2 separate regions of the Homo sapiens genome follow, and region 2 is linked to region 1. The links are contacts of gene promoters, found by promoter capture Hi-C in blood cells and fetal thymus (Javierre and others, 2016). All regions are on one chromosome and are shown on one strand. Each heading gives the region's core, a stretch centred on a gene start or on the middle of the fragment in contact. The rest is flanking DNA. Distances are from core to core; before and after follow the strand shown. Region 1 holds the start of RDH10-AS1 (RDH10 antisense RNA 1). Region 2 overlaps STAU2 (staufen double-stranded RNA binding protein 2).

The links. Contacts are between HindIII fragments. The CHiCAGO score rates a contact against its expected background, and 5 or more counts as called.
Region 2: a contact is called between a fragment that was not itself captured here and the fragment with the promoter of RDH10-AS1 in region 1, in 1 of 17 cell types (endothelial precursors). The highest score is 5.2, in endothelial precursors.

Annotation. Positions count from the first base shown.
Region 1 is chr8:73,353,817-73,361,168 of GRCh38, reverse strand. RDH10-AS1 (RDH10 antisense RNA 1) reads left to right here and starts at 4,708. Exons shown (of 6, transcript NR_125388.1): 1 at 4,708-4,877. The HindIII fragment of the contact is 9,950 bases long and covers 2,812-7,352 here.
Region 2 is chr8:73,494,525-73,501,876 of GRCh38, reverse strand. The region is part of intron 13 of STAU2 (staufen double-stranded RNA binding protein 2); the gene reads left to right. Among named protein-coding and RNA genes, the nearest start is that of STAU2-AS1, 78 kb to the right of the region's middle. The HindIII fragment of the contact is 3,254 bases long and covers 1,279-4,532 here.

The DNA.
Region 1 (7,352 bases), core at 3,459-5,958:
CGCCATGTTGGCCAGGCTGTTCTTGAACTCCTGATCTCAGGTGATTTGCCTCCCAAAGTGCTGGGATTACAGGTGTGAGCCTCCACACCCGGCTGACAGAGAACTTTAAAGCAGGAACTACACAGCAACACCCATGAAGTATTCGTTGCACATTAAAACTTTAAAATGGAATCTATTGAAACTCCTAGATCTGCCCTATCCTATCCGGTAGCCACAGGTGGCCTTTGAACACTTGAGATGTGGCTATTCTGAACTGAGATGTGCTTTAAGTGCACAATACATACCTGATTTTGAAGAATATAAAAGAAAAAGAATATAAAATATCTCATCTATAATTTTTTATGTTAATCACACTTTGAAATGATAATATTTTGGCTATTTTACATTAAATAAGTTATTAAAATAATTTCACCTATTTTTTTAAGTTTTAAAAGAGAAAGTTTAAAATTAAATATGTGGTTCAAATTATATTTCCACTGGACAGCACTGCTCTAAATATAACTTCACAGTTTATAGAAAATACTGGTGGTAATGGAACTAGTTAACACCAAAAGGAAATAAATCCAGAATGTGGGGCAATTTACTTCCTACAACAAATAAATGGTATTAGAACAAATTGGGAAGAGGGGTGGTCTCAGAATAAAATAGATATAACAACCAAATGCAGTATTTGAATCTTGTTTGCTTCCAGAACGACTATTTATAAAAAGATACTTTTGAAACAATCTGGGAAATTTGAACATTGAGACTGGGTATTAGATCATCTTAAAGGCTTATTGTTTATTTTGTTAGAGGTAATAACAGTATTACGGCTATGTTTTTAAAGATGTGCTTATCTGTTAGGAGTGCATAGCCAAGTATTTGTGGGTGGAATCATGTGTCCTCTGGGATTTGCTTTAAAATGTTCAGAGTAGGAAGGTGTGGTGGTTGGGTAAAACCAGGCTGACTAGATGTTGATTAATATTGAAACAAGGTGATGAGGCTATGGGAGTTCATTATATTTTTCTTTCTACTTTTTACACATTGAAAAATTCTAAAATTTAATTATAAATATTTAATACATATCTATATTTATACTATATAATGCTATATTTAATAATAAAAGTATGTATTTTATATAATAAGTTATAATGAATTTCGATGCCGCCAAAGCTATTTTTTATTTTTAACACCTGGCAAAGGTAAAAGCATGATTGGTTTGTCCGGCAAAGAGTCATGAGCCCTTAGAAGGCAGAGTCCAAAGGGACTGGGGAGGCAGGCTGAAAAGACCAGTGCCCCACTCTGGCCCTGCAGTAGCAGGTCATACCTGTTTCCCATGAGATGTGCAGGCCAACCAGGGCCAGTTCAAAAACACAGGATTCCCGAGGAGGGAGAGGGTTGGCAGGGCCCATGACCATCTAAAGGCCTGAGACGCACTTACAGGTCTGCCTGGGCAGGCCAGCTCAGTGCCTGGATGGGCCTCACGGGTGGGCACTGGGTCCCAGGGCCTGGCATATTCATGGTGTACCTGGAGGTGACTAGGCCTGAAATTCACGAGAGTGGATGAATAATCCCAATTTCTGTTTGCTAATTTACTGTGAGCTGTAACTGCCAAGGATCAGATATCCATGAACAGCATGTTGTGGAGAACCAACACTGGGTGGGAGAAGAACTTAGAAAGTAGCAGCGGCTGGAATCACCGGGCTGTGATAATTCCCAGTACATCTCTCCCCACCAGAGAGAAAACTGCCCTAGTGATGGCGCAGGACTTTCTTTTTGGTAGTAAGAGGATGTGGTTAAAAATGTAGTCCTGATTTTAAAGAATATAAAATATCTTATTTAAATTTTTTACATTAATCACATTTTGAAATGATAGTAGTGTGTCCCTAATTTTATCTGTTGTGGGAGACTGTGACCGACCACTGAACCCTCCTCCTCCCTCCAGACCTTTAATCAAGTTACCCTTGAGGTAGTCCATCTCTTTAAAGTAATTCTTCATTTTTATTCTGTGTTAAGAATCAGCTCTCAGAGGGCAAAAGTATTCTTTTGGTCCCAAGTTCTGATGGTGTCTTAGTCCCATTATGCTGTTTTAAAAAAATACCACAGATTGGGTAATTTATAAACAATAAACATTGATTTCTCACGGTTCTGGAGGCTGGAAAGCGCAAGGTCAAGGTGCCAGAAGGTCTGGTGTCTGGTGAAGGCTGCTGTTTGTTTCCAAGATGGCACCTTGTTCACTGTGTCCTTACGTGGAGGAAGGTTAAAGGCCAAAAAGGAGCAGACGCAGTGTGAAGCCTCTTTATAAGGCATTAATGCCATTCATGAGGGCAGAGCACTCAACCCCACCACCAGAAGGCCCTACCTTCCGATACAGTTGCGCTGGGGATTAAGTTTCAGCATGAATTTTGGAGCGGGCACGCACATTCAAACCATAGCAGATGGGATCCCTCATGTTACACCTTCAGGGTGTAGACAAGGGACTAAAGGTGAACTTTATCTGGTTCATGATTTCCGCAGCATAATAGTCATGAATATGGGTCCTGGAGTTGCACAAGTGGGGACTGTGTTTACTCTTACCTCATCTGTTGACTAATTGTGTGATCTTGAGCAAATATCCCCTCGAAGCGTTGGGTTCTTAAAAGTATATGCCCTTGACATGATTGCAAAACACCAATCACACAGAGCATCCACTACTGCACCTGGCATCTAGTGGGTACTTGGTAAATGAGAGCACTAGCTGTTGTGTTATTATTATGGGTGCAACTTAGAGTTGGTCCTGGCTAAATAGGTTTTGCTCACAGAGGCTAAACTATATGCCAAACCTAGGAAGCTTAGATCTGCACACCCCACTTGCAGATCTAAAGCATTTCTTAAGAGAATTAAAAATGGGACCAGGGCCAGGCACGGTGGCTCATACCTGTAATCCCAGCACTTTGGGAGGCCAAGGCAGGTGGATCACTTGAGGTCAGGAGTTCAAGACCAGCCTGGCCAATAGGTGAAACCCCATCTGTACTAAAAATACAAAAATTAGTCGAGCGTGGTGGTGCACGCCTGTAGTCCCAGCTACTCAGGAGGCTGAGGTAGGAGAATCACTTGAACTCAGGAGGCAGAGGTTGCAGTGAGTTGAGATCACGCTACTGCACTCCAGCCTGGGTGATAGAGCGAGACTCCATCTTAAAAAAAAAAGCGGGGGGGGGATACCAGGTTGAGGAATATAGGCGAATCTGATAAACGAGGTGTATTTGACATGCCCACCCTGCTTGTTTCTCTGCAATTTCATGAGGCTGCAGGGGTGGGGAAATGGAAGTTGCCTTTGACCTGACCCATGGCAGCCACTCATGACACAGGGAGTTAGCCTGTGTTCCACAGGATTCACTCCTCTTCTTTTCCCCAGCAACTTGTATCCATATGAGTCCTAAGACCCTCCCCATACAGCTGCCACCTTCCTTAGTGGTGTCCTGGGAAGGATGGTATTTGATGACTTGATAATGCTCAGTGGGTTATCCTCCAAGAGATATTTGCTTTTGAGCTCAGGATAAAGCCTCAGTTAGCTCAAAATAACAAACCTATAAGGATTCCTGTCAGAATCCCTAAGTGCCTGGCACCTAGTAGGTGCTCAAGAAATACTTATTAAGTGATAAATGGAGGGGATTTCAAGCACTGTTGTGAATTCCTGAGGGGCATCCTTAGGCCTGGGGACTTTCCTGGGACCATTCCAATCACCCCACAGAGGGTGCTTTCCTGTTGCAGTTATTCAGAAGGCCCGCCCTGAGCAAGGGCTCCAAACCAGGATTTCCTTCAGGGTTGAGGCCGACTCTAGTGGCAGCTTTAGGCGCTTCCTCGCTTCACAGTGCTTTAGCGCCATTAAAGCTCTGCTTTGGAGGACTGGGGTCCCAGGGGGAGTGAGAGAAAGCTCACCACTTAAGTCATTTATACTTTGGCTGCCCAGGCCTGAAAAAATGCCCTTGGGACTGATCCTGAAGTGCGGAAGGATAAGTTAAATGGCTTAATAGATCCTGGCAGCTTCGGAAAGGACTAATGGCTCAGCATTAATTGGGTACATAGAGTGCAGATGAATCTCTGAAAAGGTATTTCAGATTTGCCCGTTCAGCTTTCACTGGCTTCAAAGCATCACATCAGTTGACTCCCAAACAATGTGGATTATTAAAGAAATATGAATACTCGATATTTGCATCGACCTTCATATTTCTGGTGCTCTTGTTTATCCCCTGAGCAACAAACTGAATACCACTATGTGGCAGGGATTGTGCAGGGGGCTAGAGATAGATGAAGTTCCTGTCCCTGTCCCCACATGCCTTTATTCTGGAAGGCAGAGGTTGGGAATTTGAAAACAATGAGACAGCTGCTGGGTTGGAGGTCGATCCCAGGAAGACACAGAGGAAGGAGGAGGCCGGGGCTCCGCCTGGGTGGTAGGTGGCAGTGGAGGCTTCCTGGGTGGGTGGGGACTGGGGCATATGCCAGGCCTCCAAGGCAGGCAAACAAAGGCTCTGGCCGAGGGAGCAGCATGTGACTCACGCAGGGGGTTGGATGGGGAGCACACATGAGCTGGAGGGAGGAGGAGGGGGCTGGGCGAGGTAGGCAGGAGTCAGATAACGAAGAGCCAATGGGCTGTCAGGGGAGCGTCTGCCTGCACTGTGATGTGACTGTGAGTCACCGCAGGACCGGAACACGGACAGGACATGTGCGGCTCTGGGCTGTAAAAAAGACACCACTGAGAGTACAGAAAACACCTGTGAGAGAGGCTGGCATCCAGGGCGGGAAACCTCTTTTGAGGGCGTGAACCAGGATGTGAAGCAGCATTTGAATTCTTGCTGCTCTCTTCTGGAGCAGTGGGATATTGGGCAGTTCACTTAACCTCTCTGAGCTCCTTCCTCAAGGTGAGGAGAAAATGAAAAGATGTCTGAAAAAGAATATCTCAGGCACTTTGGTTGTAAGTGACACAGAGAAAACCATCTTTTATTTTTATTTATTTATTTATTTATTTTTTGAGACAGAGTCTCACTCTATCCCCCAGGTTGGATTGCAGTGGTGCCATCTTGGCTCACTGCAACCTCCACCTCCCTGGTTCAAGTGATTCTCCTGCCTCAGCCTCCTGAGTAGCTGGGACCACAGGTGCACCACCTTCACCCTTGGCTAATTTTTGTATTTTTAGTAGAGATGGGGTTTCTCCATGTTGGCGAGGCTGGTCTCAAACTCCTGAACTCAAGTGATCTGCCCACGTCAGCCTCCCAAAGTGCTGGGATTACAGGTGTGAGCCACTGCGTCTGGCCCAGAAAACCATTTTGAACCAGCTCAGTCAAAAGGAAGAATTTATGGGTAATCTCCTATTGCCCTGGAAGAGGCAGCGGTATGGAGGCCCTCAGGGTGGCAGAAACAGCTGCTGCAGGAGGCTCTCTCTCCATCCTTCACACTCCTGCTGCCCTCTGAGCACTGGTGCCATATTCCTCCCTGGAAACATGGCCAGCTACTGTTCACACGCCACAGATCACAGAGCTTCAGCACTTTCTGTAGTCTCTTTCTGTAGTTTCTGGTGGACAAATCCTGGAAAGAACTTTGATTGGCCAGGTTGGGGCTGGGTACTCTTCCATTGACCGGTCAGTTTGGACAGTGGGCAAAAATTATCATGACTGACCCAACTCAAGCCTTGTGGCCCCACTTCAGTCAATTAAATATGACCAGGGGAGCCACAGTTTAGAAACTGTGATGGCTCCCACTGAGAACACAGGATTGCAGTGTGGGAAAGAGTATTTCCTAAAGGTATGGGTGCTACGGGGTTGCTACGGGCTGAATGTTTGTAGGCCCCTAAGTTTGATACATTGAAGCCCTAAATCCCAAAGTGCTGGTGTTAGGAGTTGGTGCCTTTGGTGGTGATTAGGATTCGATGAGATCTTGGCTGGTATCCTCAAAATGGGATTTGCACCTTTTTAAGAAGAGGAAGACAGAGATTTCCTCACATACACCAATGAAAGGTCATAAGAGAACACAGTGAAAAGTCATCTATAAACCAGAAAGAGGATCTTCCAAGAACCAAATCTGCCAGTACCTTGATCTTGGACCTCCCAGCTCCAGAATTGGGAAATGAACATCCGTTGTTTAAGCCACCCAGTCTATGGTATTTTTATAGTAGCTCAAGCTAAGACAGAGGTGCAATCCCAGAAAATGAGAGATGCTGGGTAGATAAAACTGGATCAGCATTACAAAACACTTTGTAGATGTAAAACATTATACAAATATTAGATATTGAAGATATTGTTCCCTCTTTGAGAGTGGTACTTCTTTGGATCCATCTCTCTAGTTTCGGTGTGTAGAATAGTTACTGACACATAGTAGGGACTTTGTAACACACGGTACTGAGTTAGTGAATGCCACAGATTGAATTAGTGGATAGTCAGTGGACAGCATAACAGGCAGAGGAGTCCAACTTTATTAGAGATTAGGTTCTAAAGTCCACACAGGCTGGGCACAGTGGCTCACGTCTGTAATCCCAACACTTTGGGAGGCTGAGGCAGGAGGATTGCTTGAGCCGAGGAGTTCAAGATCAGCCTGAGGAACATAGCAAGACTCTGTATCTATTAAAAAAAAATGTGAAAATTATTTTAAAATTAGCCGAGTATGGTGGTGCACACCTGAAAAGTTCCAGCTGCTAGAGAGGCTGAGGCAGGAGGATTGCTTGAGCCTAGGAGGTCAAGGCTGCAGTGAGCCATGATAGTGCCACTGCACTCCAGCCTGGGCAACAGAGCAAGACCCTGTCTCAAAATAATAAATAAATAAGATGTGGAAATCACATGTAATCAACATAACCCTTGAAAATTCCCTAGAGAGGTGACCATGTTGAAAAACACATACCATCACTCAGTAAGTTTGATAGAACCATTTTTTCCTCCAAATTGGAACACATTGATGTTTCCTGTGGTCAAACACCAGAGGAAGCCGTTGGCTTTTATTTAAGCATGATGTTTTATAAGAAAATACATTAACAGCTGAATCTCATTTAGCATGGGGAGATGCTCAGGAGGAAACAGCAGATTCACTTCTCCCATCTCAGGCTCTCTCTGGACTGGGCTCATTGAGTCGAATGGCAGGTGGACTTCCTTGCGTTCAGTTTCATATTCTCTTGTTTACTTATTTGTACAGTGTATGGTGCTCATCTTCTAGAATGTGCATACATTGAGTTAGGAGGCCCATCTGTCCTGGTCACTACAGACTCTCCAATGCCTATCATGGTGCCTGGCATAGCAGGCTCTCAATAACCACATATCAAAGGAATGATCTACTGCACAAGGCACCATACTTGGTACTGAAGAGGTGGGATGAGATTTGTGAAACTAGCCTTTCCTCGGGGCATGGCCAGC
Region 2 (7,352 bases), core at 1,656-4,155, 140 kb before region 1:
TGGAGAAGAAGCAATAGATAATTGAAAACATCTTAATTTACATTTATATTTTGGTTGAATTTGTGAGCCAAAAGAGCAATTGACAAATATCTTGGCCAATGAATAATTATTGCATTGAACTTGCTTTTGGAAATACTTGTTGAATTTTATACTTTCTTTTCCCATTAAGGCCAAAATTTTGAATTCTCTAATGGGTAAGGGAGAACAAAGGCAAAGAGAAATCTAAGATTCTTTCCCCAGGAAAACATATTAACATCATAGTAGAATATGCTCAGGAAACTCTGACCTAAGCTTTTACCTTTAGAGGTTTAGAGTCTGGGAAATGTTTTACTTACACATACTGGGGAAGATTTATAGAGAAGTGAAATGTACTAGTATACTTTCATAGATAAGGCATCTGGAGTGTGTGTATATAGGGTGTATAACATAATAGCAACAAATGTAATAGATATTTAAAATTTTAAGATGTCAAATATAAATACACAATTCTAAAATAGATCATAATTTGCTATTAATATCTGTTTTCTTTGTATAGAGATGTATTTCCATCTAAAAGCCTAATGTTACTCAAGATAAATTTTGAAGGCCTAAAGTACATGGTTCTCTTTTTCTTATTAAATCACATTTTAATGAGGGTTCAGTACTTTTATTTAGTAAATATTCAACTGGGAGGGTTTCTGCAGTTTTTTTTTAAGTAGGAAAGTTTGCACAAAAGAAGTATTTTCTTATTACCAAATTAGTTACTTTGAAGTATCTGGCAGATTACATCAGTCTCTTATTTGAATTGGTACTGCAGAAGACATCTATTGTACATCATTAGTGATGCATTAAATTGGTTATGTTTTAAAATCTAAGCATAGTAGAATCTTTTGTGTTTGCCTTCGAAGACTGCTGTTATAATAAAACATTTTGAAATGAGTAAAGTTGTCTCTTTGGTTTAGTTAATGCATCATTGGAGAACTTAAAGATTTTAGCCTCTAACCATTCATCTCCTTGTTTAGCAGAATGTGAGAAAATTGTGCAAATTCCTTTATATTTTAAGGGAAAAATATCATTACTTATTATTTGTGTAATCACTTTAATATTCTGAGGTAAAATAATAAAACAGGAGACATTGATCATATAATTAGTCTCAAGTTTAGTCTTCTAAACATATGAACAGAGTAAGATTAAAATATACTGTGCAATTTTATCACGGTCATATTCTTATTGCCACTAAGATCATATGGTTAATTTTCTAATCGAAAATATAACTAGCAGAAATCACATTTTCAAGCTTCTATTTTTTTAAAGTGCACAAATGATGAAAAACAGGGCCAACAATATTTTTTTTACTAATCACTGGCAGAAACAAGCATAGTTTGTTAAAGGTTTCCCACAAAATACTGTGTAACTTAATACTAGGGATAATTTAACTACAGTGAGCCCTCAACATCTGTGGATTCAAATAACCAGTGATCAAAAATAATTGGAAAAAAAAAATTCACAAAGTTTCAAAAAGCAAAACTTGAATTTGCCATGTGCCAAGTAGTATGTTGAATCCACACCAACGAAGTGGTAGGTAGGCATTGTATTCGGTATTATAAGTAATCTAGAGGTAATTTAAAGTATACAGAAGATGTGCATAGATCATATGCAAATACTATGCCATTTTGTATAAAGGACTTGAGCATCTGTGGATTTGGGTATCCATGTGGGTTCCTGGAACCAATGCTCCATTGCTTCTGAGAGACTGTATACTGGACCATAATAGCTTGACAGATAGACTGGCAAAGAATGGGTCTTGTGCTTTTTTGAATCCCATATGGTACTAGACACATATATGTTATTTAATAAGAACTCTCAGTGATGACCTCACCTCTTAATTCCCTGGAAAAGTATAAGATAAATAAAATAAAGGCATGGAGCCCCAGCTTCAGCTCAATCCGTGAGAGCGCCAATCTCTTGACTATCACTGCTTGTCTTTGACAGAGGTATTTCACTTCTGATTAGAGTTATTCCATACTCCCGTGGTCTAGAGCCCATATGCAAGGATATCTTACTCCTGGGACTTGTTTTCTCACTGGTTTCTATCTATCTTTATCTTCTTCTCCAGTGACACCTTTCCCTCAACTTACAAATGTCTCCCTAATTCTAACACAGTCTTCCACCTCCACCATTCTGTCCTTTTTGAGCTATTGTTTTCTTCCTTTCCTCAACTGCCAACCTTTTTCTAGTTTCTCACCTCTTATTCACTGGTAGACAATACAGTGAATACAGGATGGATACCATCCCAGTCACCATTGCAACTGACCTGGCCACAGTCACCCTTGTCCTACTGATTGCCAAATACAAAGGCCTATGCTCAGACTTCCTCCTACTTGCCTTTTCTGCAGGATTGCCTCCCTCCTTTGTGAAGCCTTCTTTTGCCATGACTGACTTATCTCTTCCTTTTGGCTCTTTGACTTCTGCTGGCCCCTTAAATGCTGTTGTGCTCAAGGCTTTATCCTTGGTATCTTGGGTCCATTTGGGTCCTATCCACTTTCAAGTATTGCACTACTAGCCACATTTTGATGCCCTCTCAACCTCCATATTTAGCCATGACACCCTGTGTCAGTCAGGGTTCTCCAGAGTAACAACAGGACATAGATGTATTGAGAGAGTAGGTGGGGGAGAGACTGATTGATTTTAAATAATTGGTGCACATGATTGTGAGGGCTGGCAAGTGCAAAATCTATAGTGCAGGTAAGTGGGCTGGAAACAGGCAGAGTTAATATTGCAGTTTGAGTTGAAGGTGGGCCAGCAGGATGGAACTCAGGGATGATTTCTGTGTTACAGTCTTAAGGCAGAATTCCTTCTTCTCTGGGAATCCTGTTTTTGCTCTTAAGGCCTTCAACTGATTGGATAAGGTCCACCCACATTATGGAGGGTAATCTGCTTTATTCAATCAGCTGATTATATATGTTCATCACATCTGCAAAATGTCTTCACAGGAACATCTAGACTAGTGTTGGACCAAGCAACTGGGCACCACAGCACAGCCAAGTTAACACATAAAATTAACCGTCACATTCCCTTAGCTGCTCAATGTTTATGTCTCATGGGGTAGTTGAAAAACATATGGATACAGCTTTGACACTTGGTTCATATACTCACTTGCTGGGTTGCCTTGGGCAAGTTTCTTAATCTCCCCAAATAGCAATTCCCTTGTTTACAAAATAAGGACTATAATTATTAGTCTATGTGTTTGTCTTTATGATTTTCTTTTTATGTCAGCGCCATGCCTATCATAGTGCCAGTTACACAAATACTTGATGAACAAATGAAGTACTTAATGATGAAAGCAGGAAAGAGACTTGAGTTTTTATGTCACCCCAAGGAAGAGCTAGATTTGGACTTCAGAATCAGGATAAAAGTTTTCTAGCAAAAAAAAAAGTAAACATGCATACCTACTAAATGTATAGTGTATTTATTTACCTATGGAATCAATGCAGGCTACAGTGTATACACACATGTAGACTGTACTGTGTACATATGTTCTATGGCCATTCATTCAACAAACACTGAATGTCTCCTAAATGCCAGGCAGTGTGCTGGGCATGGGCCATATTATGTTTAGAGTTTCTTTGCCTTTGCCTTTATTACTTTTTTCACTGGTCTCTGACATGTAATAGATAATTGCCTGGAGGAATTATAGGTGACTACAGCATAGCAATAATGTTTACCTTTTTCCCCCCAGAAATAAGGTAGTATTATGTGGCAGGCTGGCTCTGCTAAATGTTCATTAAATAATATAAATCATGTAGAAAGTTAACTTCAACGGACATGATTTTTATCTTACTGGCAAATTTACAAACACAATGTGTCCTGTGCTAGACATTAAGAGATCAGTATATTATGTTGCCACGTGTACATAAGTTGTATCATTACCAGCTTTCACTGTGTATTTGTTAAAACAAAATTTAGAGATTTGCAGAAACACCTTTTGTATTTTGACAAAGCATGTGAGATGTTTTATTCACTTCTTTTTAAGAAATAATTCTGTTATGGTAATTATACTGATAAAGAAACACTCGAGTGTGTTATTACTAGTCTGTTATAAATTTGAGGGGGAAGAAAAGGGTCAAAAGATTATAGTAACATCAGGGAGAACATTTATATAATTTCTGTAAAGTTTGGTATAAAAACTGATAAGCTAGTTGAAATTATGTATGATTTTTACCTGGAGATAAATAACTTGCAGAGGTTCTATTACAAGTGTAATTGATAACTCGAAAAGTTGTCCTGTGATGCAAGTAGGTTCTACTTCAGTCTTTATTACCGAGGGATACTTCATAGCTAATAGTTTATACATTTTTCTCAGTTAGAACCTGAGTATCAGCTTTTATATCACCTGTTTTAATGAACATGGCCTTTCCCAATCCTTTGCCAAGAATTGCAATATTTATTATTGAATATTGATTTGCTTATATAAATGTGGTTCACTAAAATAAAGCCCTTTAATAATCTTCATAATTTAGACTACATGAAACAAAGCAGAAATTAAATAAGCTTTACTGCTATAGCAGTAATTTTGGATGTTTATTCATTTTAAAACCAGTCTTGCAATTCTTATGATTACATAAAGATCTAAAGCTTCAGATTAGAGCCAAATCTGCATCATAGAATGTGAAATGGGGACTTGGCAATTATTTAATAGACTTAAGCCAATTTAATAGATGAAGTAATCCACTTTCTGTGAGGTTGAGTTCAGAAGATAATTGCCAGTTCTTTGCTTCTTAATGATTGTTCAATGTTAGAAAAAAATCATCCAGAATTTTAAACTGCCAGATAAGAATTAATGAACCTTTCCTGATGAAAGTAGATGTTCCATGGAAGCATTTGATCTATGATTTTTATATACTTGCACTGAATTTGATGCTAATTTTATTAATATATTATTTTCAACAACAAAGTAATAAAAATTATAAAACTGAAAGGACTATTAGCAACTGTCTAGGTCTGTGCTGTCTAATACGTTAACCATTAGCCACATGTGGCTATTGAGCATTTGAAATTTGACTCATCCAAATTGGGATGTGTGCTCCAAGCATAAAATGCACACTGGATTTGAAAGGCAGCACCAAAAAACAAAAGAATGTAAATGATCTCAGTAATAAGTTTTTATTGATTAAATGTTGAAATGGTAATATATTGGGTATACTGTGTTGGTTAAATAAAGAATATTATTAAAATTAATTTCATCTGTTTCTTTTTACTTTTTAGATGTGGCTACAAAAATTACATATGTAGCCTGCACTATATTTCTGTTGGACTGTGCTGGTCTAGATCAACACTTTTATGTCAAAGATGAGGAAATTGAAGCCCAAAGAAGTAAAGGGATTGATCTAAACATGTACAACTTATAAATGGCAGAGCTGATACTCAGACCCAGGCTTTGTGATACCTGATACAGTTCTTTCCATTCTAGCACACTTCCTTCAGTTGTGGCAGTTACAACACACAGACACATACACATTCCAGAGCATATACATCTAAGTAAGCATTGATTCCTCCAAAGTGGTCATCTTCACATCTGGGGAGGAGGCTGTGTATGCATATTTTAGTAATACATTTAGGTTTCCACTTTCAGAAACATCTTGGAATTTTCTAAACATTCTTTTGATAGCAAATTTGTGTATTTTTGATGCACACACACACACCGAGAGAATAAGAGAGACAGAATTTTATAGTGAATACCCACATACCTACCACCTAAATTGTATAGTTAATATTTTGCTATATTTGTTCACCTCATCTCTCTATTTAAGTGGGTCTCTATTAACCCATCTCATTTTTGAATTGGATTTCAAAGAAAGAGGCAGACATCTGTATAATCTGATTTTGATTTTTAGAAATAACTACAAGTTATTTGGAGGTGTCTGCTAAGTAATACTGTGTCTGAAACAAAATGTGTTTATAAAAGAGAGCAGCTTTGTGTGTGTACATATATGTGTGCGGGGAGACAAAAGAGAACATACAAACTTGAGGTGGACAGTCTTGTGAGAGAAAGTTCCAAAATGGAATTCTACAACTGTATGAATCAATTGTTGCTTCCGTAGATTAATATCATAAAACAATACTCATTTATATAATCTTTTAGATATTTTAATCATTGTTTTATAGTCACATTTTTGTTAGGTAAATCCAATAAATAGTGTTAACTATACATATATATATATATATATATATATATTTGGCTTTATGAATCATTCCTTAGAGTAGTTTATGATTTAAGTAAGGGACCATATAGTTAAATGTGGGCATATTGACTAATAAAAAGTATAAGTTTTTATTGACATTTTATTTGAACACTGGAAGATTCTATGATAGTATATTAGCAGATAAAGCACTAAATAAAGAATTAAGTCATTTAGTAAAGTAACTGATATGTTTTAAAAAATAACTTGTTAGAAGAAAAATGTAAATGCTTAAGATAAACTGCCTTTAACATTTTGACTATTTCTTATTAACCATTTAAAAATCCTCAATTCCAATTAAATGGCAGAATACTTCTACTTTATTTGATATATGATGCTCAGTGTTTGTATACCTGAGAGGAAAATGCATACTCTAACAGCACTTAACAGGTACTTAAAAAAGTACCAAATACCTTTGGAGAGACCAACTCACTTCTAATTTGAATATATCAGTTTCCTTACATGATATTTTTGCATTACACCCAACCATCCCAGAATGTGATACAAAGTAGAGATTTATTATTTCCATTGAAAATGGAAAAAAATCATACCCAACAAATAAGAATTAAAAACTCCCATCTTTATCAGCAGAATCCATTGATTTATAAGTGGAATACAGTTTAAGTTTTTAATATGAATATATGATAAAAGAAGCCGGAGAATATGTGCTTAATTACACATGACCTTCTGGGCTTTGCAGTATCTTATGGTTCATCTCCATTTTAATGGCTCAGCACAATTGGAAGGATTTTGCTTTTCCTTCCACATGCATGTAAATCAGTAATCTACAAAATTTATAATGTTATTTGTTAACAAAACTTCCGTTAAAATTTAAGATAATATTTCATAAAAGTTTTGGGATTCCTAATTACAATACAAGTGGCTTACAATTTATTGTTGTTGATCATTTTTAAAAGAGTCTCTGCTCTGAGCCATGTTGTAGATTTTTAATAGAAGGTGGTGCAAAACTACTGTACTTTCATATTGTCTAAAAATGTGGAAAACTTCAATATCCAAATCAACTGATCAAGCAGAACCAGTTTTATTGTATATCTTCCTTTGACATTTGCCATAGATGAACTTGAAAATTATTTAATTATTCTATGTTTTAGGAGAAGTTAAACTTCATTGAGT